Regions from separate parts of the Homo sapiens genome. Here region 1 is linked to region 2. Evidence: promoter capture Hi-C in human tissues and cell types (Jung and others, 2019). All regions are on one chromosome and are shown on one strand. The core of a region is centred on a gene start or on the middle of the fragment in contact, and the rest is flanking DNA. Distances in the headings are between cores, read along the strand shown.

Evidence for each region. The method cuts DNA at HindIII sites, captures the fragments that hold promoters and counts their contacts. A contact is called where the count stands out against the background at its distance.
Region 1: a contact is called between a fragment that was not itself captured here and the fragment with the promoter of HECA in region 2, in 1 of the 25 tissues and cell types used here (thymus).

Annotation. Positions count from the first base shown.
Region 1 is chr6:140,726,038-140,729,509 of GRCh38, forward strand. All of the region lies in intron 4 of LOC105378027 (a long non-coding RNA gene), which reads left to right. Among named protein-coding and RNA genes, the nearest start is that of MIR4465, 44 kb to the left of the region's middle. The HindIII fragment of the contact is 8,741 bases long and covers 1-3,472 here.
Region 2 is chr6:139,133,382-139,136,820 of GRCh38, forward strand. HECA (hdc homolog, cell cycle regulator) reads left to right here and starts at 1,699. Exons shown (of 4, transcript NM_016217.3): 1 at 1,699-2,286. The coding sequence starts at 2,016. RefSeq lists enhancers at 163-212, 1,491-1,785, 2,651-2,770 and silencers at 1,491-1,680, 1,791-1,870, 2,271-2,540. The HindIII fragment of the contact is 7,882 bases long and covers 1-3,439 here.

The DNA.
Region 1 (3,472 bases), core at 359-2,858, 1.6 Mb after region 2:
AAAATTTAAAAATACAAACAATTAATACATAAAATCTACTATATCTACAGGCTGTTGAAGGAATAACATATGACCACTTCAATTGACTCACAAAAAGCAACACCCATTGACAAAATCTAACACCCATTTAGGATAAAAATTTTTGGCCAATTAGTAATAGAGTGGAACTTCTTTGAATTAATAATGAACATCTACAAAATACTAGAGCTAACAATATAGTTAATGGTGATGTTACCAAAACAACAGGGGTTTGGTCAAGGTCCTGCCAGTTGTTGCACAGAAAGCCAATCACTAATACAATGAGTAATGCCAAGGAAGAAGGCCTTAATTGGTTGTTGCAGCTGAGGATATAGGGCCTCAGTTTCAAATCCGTTTCTCCGACCTACTAAAACTATGGTTTTTTGTAGCAGGGAAAAAATATAATGATATGTAAGAAAGCAGAAACTAGGGAGGTCAAGGAAGCAATCATGATGAATAGGGGTCCAGCATTTCATTGTCTGAATGTGGTGATCTGGTGAGTTTCAGTTCTTTAATACTTTTTGTGAGAGGCCTGAACATCATTTCCTGAGGAAGGAATTAATATAAAACAAATGCAAGGTTCAAGCTTTAAGACCACAGTGGTCAATTTCTATGTTTATCCATATCTATGGGACTATTGGGCCAGTTTCAGTGACAGATTAGATACTTTCCTTCTAAGATCAGGAATAAGTCAAGAGCATCCTCCCTTATAATTCCAATTTAACATCATTCTAGAAGTTCTTGCTAGTGCAATAACAAAATGAAATTAAATATATACAGTTTGGTGATATGACCTGAATGTTTGTGTCTCCTCATATCTCCAAATTCTAATGCTGAAGTCATCACTCCCAAGGTGATAGTATTAACCTTGAGAGGTAAATCCTTTGGGAGGTGATTAAGTCATGGGTATGGAGCCCTCATAATTGAGATCTTCATGCCTTTATAAAAAAGGTGCAAGAGAGATCCCTTTTCTTTCACCATGTAATGTTAGAGTGAGAAGAAGGCTATCTATGAGAATGTGAACCCTCACCAGACACTGAGCCTAATGGGTCTTTGATCTTGGACTTCCCAGAACTGATGAAAAATAAATTTCCTTTATTCATAAGTCACCCAGACTGTGGTATTTTCTTATAACAGCCAAAGTAGACCTAGACAGTTGGAAAGGAAGAAATGAAACTGCCTTATATACAGTTGAAATAATTGTCTATGTAGACAACACCAAATACTCTACAAAAGCCTCCCAGGATTAATAAGCAAGTTTGTGGAATATAAGTCCATATTCAAAAATTTCCCTATATATTATCAATAAGGTATTAAACTATTGACATTTTTAACTAAAAAAAAAACTATTTACAATAACTTCCAAAAAGGGAGTATCTAGGCATAAATTTAACAAAATATTGTCTAAGTTCCCTATTCATAAAACTAAAAAAACAAATAAAAGATGTAAATAAGTGGAGTGATGCTCTGTGTTCATAATTATTACCATATGATGAAAATGTCAATTCTTCTCTAACTGATGCACAAATTTAACACAATACCTGCCAAAATCCCAGAAAGTGACTTTGTCAATATTGACAAGTTACTTTTCAATGTTATATAGAAAGGCACAGTACTTAGCATAGCCAACATAATACTTCAGAAGAACAAAGTTGGAGGACTCACATTGTCCTATTTCAACCATTTACTGCAAATCTATGGTAATCAAGAGAGTATCATATTGATGCAAAAATAGACACTTAGGTCAATGGAACAAAACAGAGAGCTCAGAGATAGATTCACAGATAGGGAGCTCAGAGATAGATTCACAGAAATATAGTCAACTGATTTTTTTGATGAAGGCATGGAAGCAATTCAAAGGTAAAAGGAAAGTCTTTTCACTAAATGATGCTGGAACAATTGAATTTCCATATGCAAAGATATCAACCTAGGCCTATATCTTACATGTTACACAAATTTTATGTCAAAATGGATTATAGAACTAAATGAAATGTGAAAATATAAAAGTTCTAGAATGAAAAATTAAGAAAAATACCTATGTGGTTGGGTTTGGTAAATAACTTTTAGATACACCGTCAAGATCCTTGAAAAAAAATAGTCAATTTGAGTTGCACTTTTCTGTATTAGTCTATTTTTGCATTGCTATAAAGAAATACCTGAAACTGGAAAATTTTTAAAGAAAAAAGATTTCTGCAGTCTGTACAGGAAGAAGCATAGTGGCTCCTGCTTGGCTTTCTGGAAAGGCCTCAACAAACTCACAATCATGGTAAAAGGCAAAGAGGAAGCAGGCATGTCTTACATGGCCAGAGCATGAGGAAGAAAGAGGGGGGAAGGTGCTGCACACTTTTAAATAACCAGATCTCATGAGAAATCATTCTTTATACAGTACTAATGGGGATGGTACTAAACTATTCAAGAGAACTCTGCCCCCATGATCCAATCATCTCCTACCAGGCCCCACCTCCAATACTGAGGATTAATTACAATTTGACATGAGCTTTAAACTGGGTGACAGATCCAAATCATATCATTTACTAAAATTAAAAAGCTACTGTTAAGAAAAAAAAATCCTACCTTGTGAAGATACAAAGAAATTGTAAGACTCTACAATGATAAATTAGATAACTTGTGCTAGTTTTTTTGTTTCTGTTGTAACAAATTATCAAAAACTTAGTCACTGCTATAGTTTGGATGTTTGTCTGCCAAACTCCATGTTGAAATTTGATCTTCAAAGTTGGAGGTAGGGTGTAATGGCAGGTGTTTGGGTTTTGAGGGCAAATCCCTCTGAATGGCTTGGTGCCATTCTAGTAGTTAATAGCTTCCTCTCTTATCATGTGATCTCTTCACACACAGGCTCCCCTTTACCTTTCACCATGAGTAGAAGCAACCCGAGGCCCTTACCGGAAGCAGATGACGCCAGCCTCATGCCCCTTATAGGCCCCTCAAGCCTGCAGAACCATGAGCCAAATAAACCTATTTCCTTTATAAGTTACCCTGCCTCCAGTATTTCTTTATAGCAACACAAATGAACTAAGACAGTGACTTAAAACAATAAAAATTTATCTTACATTTTGAGAGATCACAAGTTCAAAAATGGCCAGCAGGTATGCATTCCTTCTGGAAGCTCTAGGGGAGAAGCTATTTCCTTCCCTTTTTGAGCTTCTAGAGGCTACTTATAGTCCTGCATGACTCCACCCTTTACTTTCAACATCACATCTACTCTGATTCTGATTTTCCTCCCTTCCTTTATTACGATCCCTTATGATTACATTGGGCCCACTCAGATAAGCCAGGTTAATCTTCCCATCTCAAAAGCCTTAACTTAATCATATTTGCAAGGTCATTTAATGTTCCAGTGATTCAGGTGTCAACATATTTAAGGGCCTTATTCTGTTTAAATAACCCAAGTAAGAGTGACCAATATATTTAAATAAACAGCTTACTTTAAAAAAGA
Region 2 (3,439 bases), core at 449-2,948:
GAAGTGTGACCTTTGTTAACTCCACTTCAGCCTCTGATTGGTTGACGAAAGCAACCAATCAGACTAATTGTGCGTCACCACTTCATTTACATGAGAAACCTCCAGGGGGTATTTGGACCTCAGAAGATTCTGCATCCGGAACCTTGAGCCACCGCTGGGGCCGCTTCCATACTGTGGAGTGTACTTTCATTCTCAATAAATCCCTGCTTTCTTCTTTCCTTGCTTTGCTGGGCGTTTGGTCCAATTGTTTGTTCAAAATGCCAAGAACTTGGACGACTTGCAGTCAAGACCCTCTAATGGTAACAACAACACCGTGACAGAGCTTTTACTAAAGGGCTGAATTAAAGATTACACTATAAAAGGGGAACACTGTAAAGCTGTCAGCTAAACTAGTCTTTCCTCCACAGTTCGTGAGGAAGGAACCTAATTTATACATTCAACAAATTTATGCCAGCTGTTCTCTGATGTGCCCAAGGCAGATAAAATCTATCCATGGAGGTTTCATTTCAGTGAGAGGGAGATATACAAGAAATAAGTAAACACCTACATTGCCAACATAATTAGAGATGGAGGAGGAAAATAACAGGGTGGAACTTCTGACAGCTCTCCTGGGAAGGTCTCTGTGGAAGTGATGTATTTGAGCTGAGACCTGAAGGAAGGGAAGGAGTTGGCCGAAAAGGTAGAATAGAATTGCAGAAAGAGATCAAGGGGAGCTCTTCCCAGGGGTCCCCTGCCCTCATATTGCCTGTCTTCACTGGTGTCACCTAATCTCCTACTGCTCATAACCTGGCTACCTATCTTTCACTATCTTTCAGGACAACTCAGCCCTATGCATAGGGATGGGTTCCCCCCAAGCAGGGACTGCTTCAGAGTCCAGGCAACATCTAGTTACATCCCTGGATGATGGGTCTTGTTTGAGTGAATTGTTTTCACCACCAGACTGTGAAGGCTTCCCATTCAGGACCCTGGTGTTCATCCCCATTGTCTGGGAACTCTACCCTGTTTCTTTCTTTCTTTTCTTTTTTTTTTTTTTTTTTTGAGACAGAGTCTCGCTCTGTTGCTCAAGCTGGAGTGCAGTGGCGCGATCTCGGATCCCAGGTTCAAGTGATTCTCCTGCCTCAGCTTCCCGAGTTTCTGGGACTACAGGCGCACGCCACCACGCCCAGCTAATTTTTTTTTGTATTTTTAGTAGAGACAGGGTTTCACCACGTTGGCCAGGATGGTCTCGATCTCTTGACCTCGTGATACACCCGCCTCGGCCTCCCAAAGTGCTGGGATTACAGGCATAAGCCACCGCGCCCGGTCCCCTGTTTCTTTAATTACTGTTACTGAAAGGCATAGCCTTTGAATGAGTTATTAATCCAAAATCTTTTGTTTTCCATTCTTGCTCTAGTCACAGCTTATTTTTCCAGACCATACTGTTCTAAGCCTCAATTACATTAAGGCCAGGAGGCCACCGAAGAACTCCACATGCCACTGCACTGGCGGGTGGAGCAAGTCAAGCAGGGCAGCTCATGAACGCCCGGGAGTCCAGGAGGCCCGGGTGGGGACGCCTGGATGACGTCACTCGAGGTGGGCAGGCCCCGCGCGGGGCGTGACGTCACGCGGGCGGTCCCGTCAGCCGTGAGGTCACCTGGTGGGCGCGGCCAGGCCGAATCCCCAGTGTCGTCACGGGAGGGGGCGGGCCCAGAGCGTGTCAGTGCAGCCGAATCAAAACAAGCCGGAGACCCGCCTTTTCCCTCCGGCTCGGGAGCGTCTCGCTTGCGCCCCGGGCCCGCGGCGCCCGCGCGGCTGCGAGCCTCGGGTGGCCGCGTGCCGGCTCCAGGAAGCCGGAGAGGGCGCGGCGGCCAGGATGGCGCGGCACGGGCCGTGCGGCTAGACGGGAGCCGAGGGAACCGCCGGCTCGCGCCCTCCGTTCTTTCCCGGAGCCGGCTTCACGCAGGGCCGGGAACGGCCGTGCCTCTGGGATCCGCCTTCGCTGACGCCGGGCACCTACCTGGACGCGAGCGAGCGAGATGCCCAACCCCAAAAACAGCAAAGGCGGCCGCAAAAACAAGCGCGCCAACAGCAGCGGCGACGAGCAGGAAAATGGAGCCGGGGCCCTGGCAGCGGCGGGCGCGGCGGGAGCGGCGGCCGGGGGGGCCCTGGCGGCGGCGGCCGGTTGCGGGGCGGCGGCGGCGGGCGCGCCGGGCGCCGGAGGCGCGGCGGGCGCCGGAGGCGCGGGGACTGGCGCCGCGAACGCTGCGGCCGCCGCGGGGGCTGCGGCCGCGGGCGATGCCAAAAACGGTAAGACGGGGCTGGCGGGGCGAGCGCCAACTTCCTCCCCGACGGGGACGGCGCGGTGGCGGGGCCCTGGGTGGCGCGGGCGGTGCGTGGACAATGCGAGAGTCAGGAAGTGCTCACCCCGCCCCTCCGCCCCGCCGCGGCTGCCCCTTCGCGGTCCCCACGCCTGGCGGCGGGGACAGATCTGCGGCCCCTGCCCGGTGTCCGCGCGGGGGGCAGCCCGCGCCCCACACTCTGAGGGGCTCCCGGCTGCGGCAGCGCTGCCCTCGGGCCCAGCCTGCTGCCCGCGCTGGCACTGCCCCGCCGTGTGTGCCGGGCCGAAGGGAGGAAGGAAGGGAGGAAAGAGCCGCCCAAGTTGAGAAGAATGATCCGATTGAAAACTTAGGCACCGGTTAATTCTTCCCGGTGCTCCAAGGCCACCCGTAACCCCCGGAATGAAGGAGAGAGAGCCTCAATTCTTAGCACACCCAGGCTTGCTGCGTCGATCGCCACAGGTGAAGAGGCCTCGAGACATTTAGGGCCTCTGTGTTTGCTCTTTAATTTTTTGGCTTGCTTGAGGAAGGAAGAGAATCTGAACTTGACTTCCGTTCTCAGCCCGGAGTTAAAAAAAAAAAAAAAAAAAGAAAAGAAAGAAAAGAAAAATCATTCTCTATGTCATTGTGCTTAACATTTTCAGAAGGAAGCCTCATAATCTTAGGTAGTGCCTGAATGTTCCTTTTGAGGGGACACTTAGGAACTGGCCCAGATGTGACAGGATTTCTGTTCTCATTACAGAGCCATGGTTTTCGTTATAAGGTGCTGGGCAAACACTTACTTATTTGGACAGTTCTTTGAATTCCTCTAGTCAGGCACTTTTTCCAGGAAGACAACGTAGGTATTTTAATGAAGGGAGATTTGAATTGTTATATCTGGCTTTTAATTTATAGCGTCAGCTTTTGAAGCCATTCTTTATGTAGATCAGGCACTTTTTTGTTTTGTTTTTTTTTTTTTAGACGGAGTTTGCAATTTCGCCCAGGCTGGAGCGTAGTGGCGCAATCTCGGCTCACTGCAACCACCGTCTTCCGGTCTGAAGCGATTCTCCTGCCTCAGCCTCCCGAGTAGCTGGGATTACAGGCGCCCGCCACCACGCCCGGCTAATTTTTGTTATTTTTAGTAG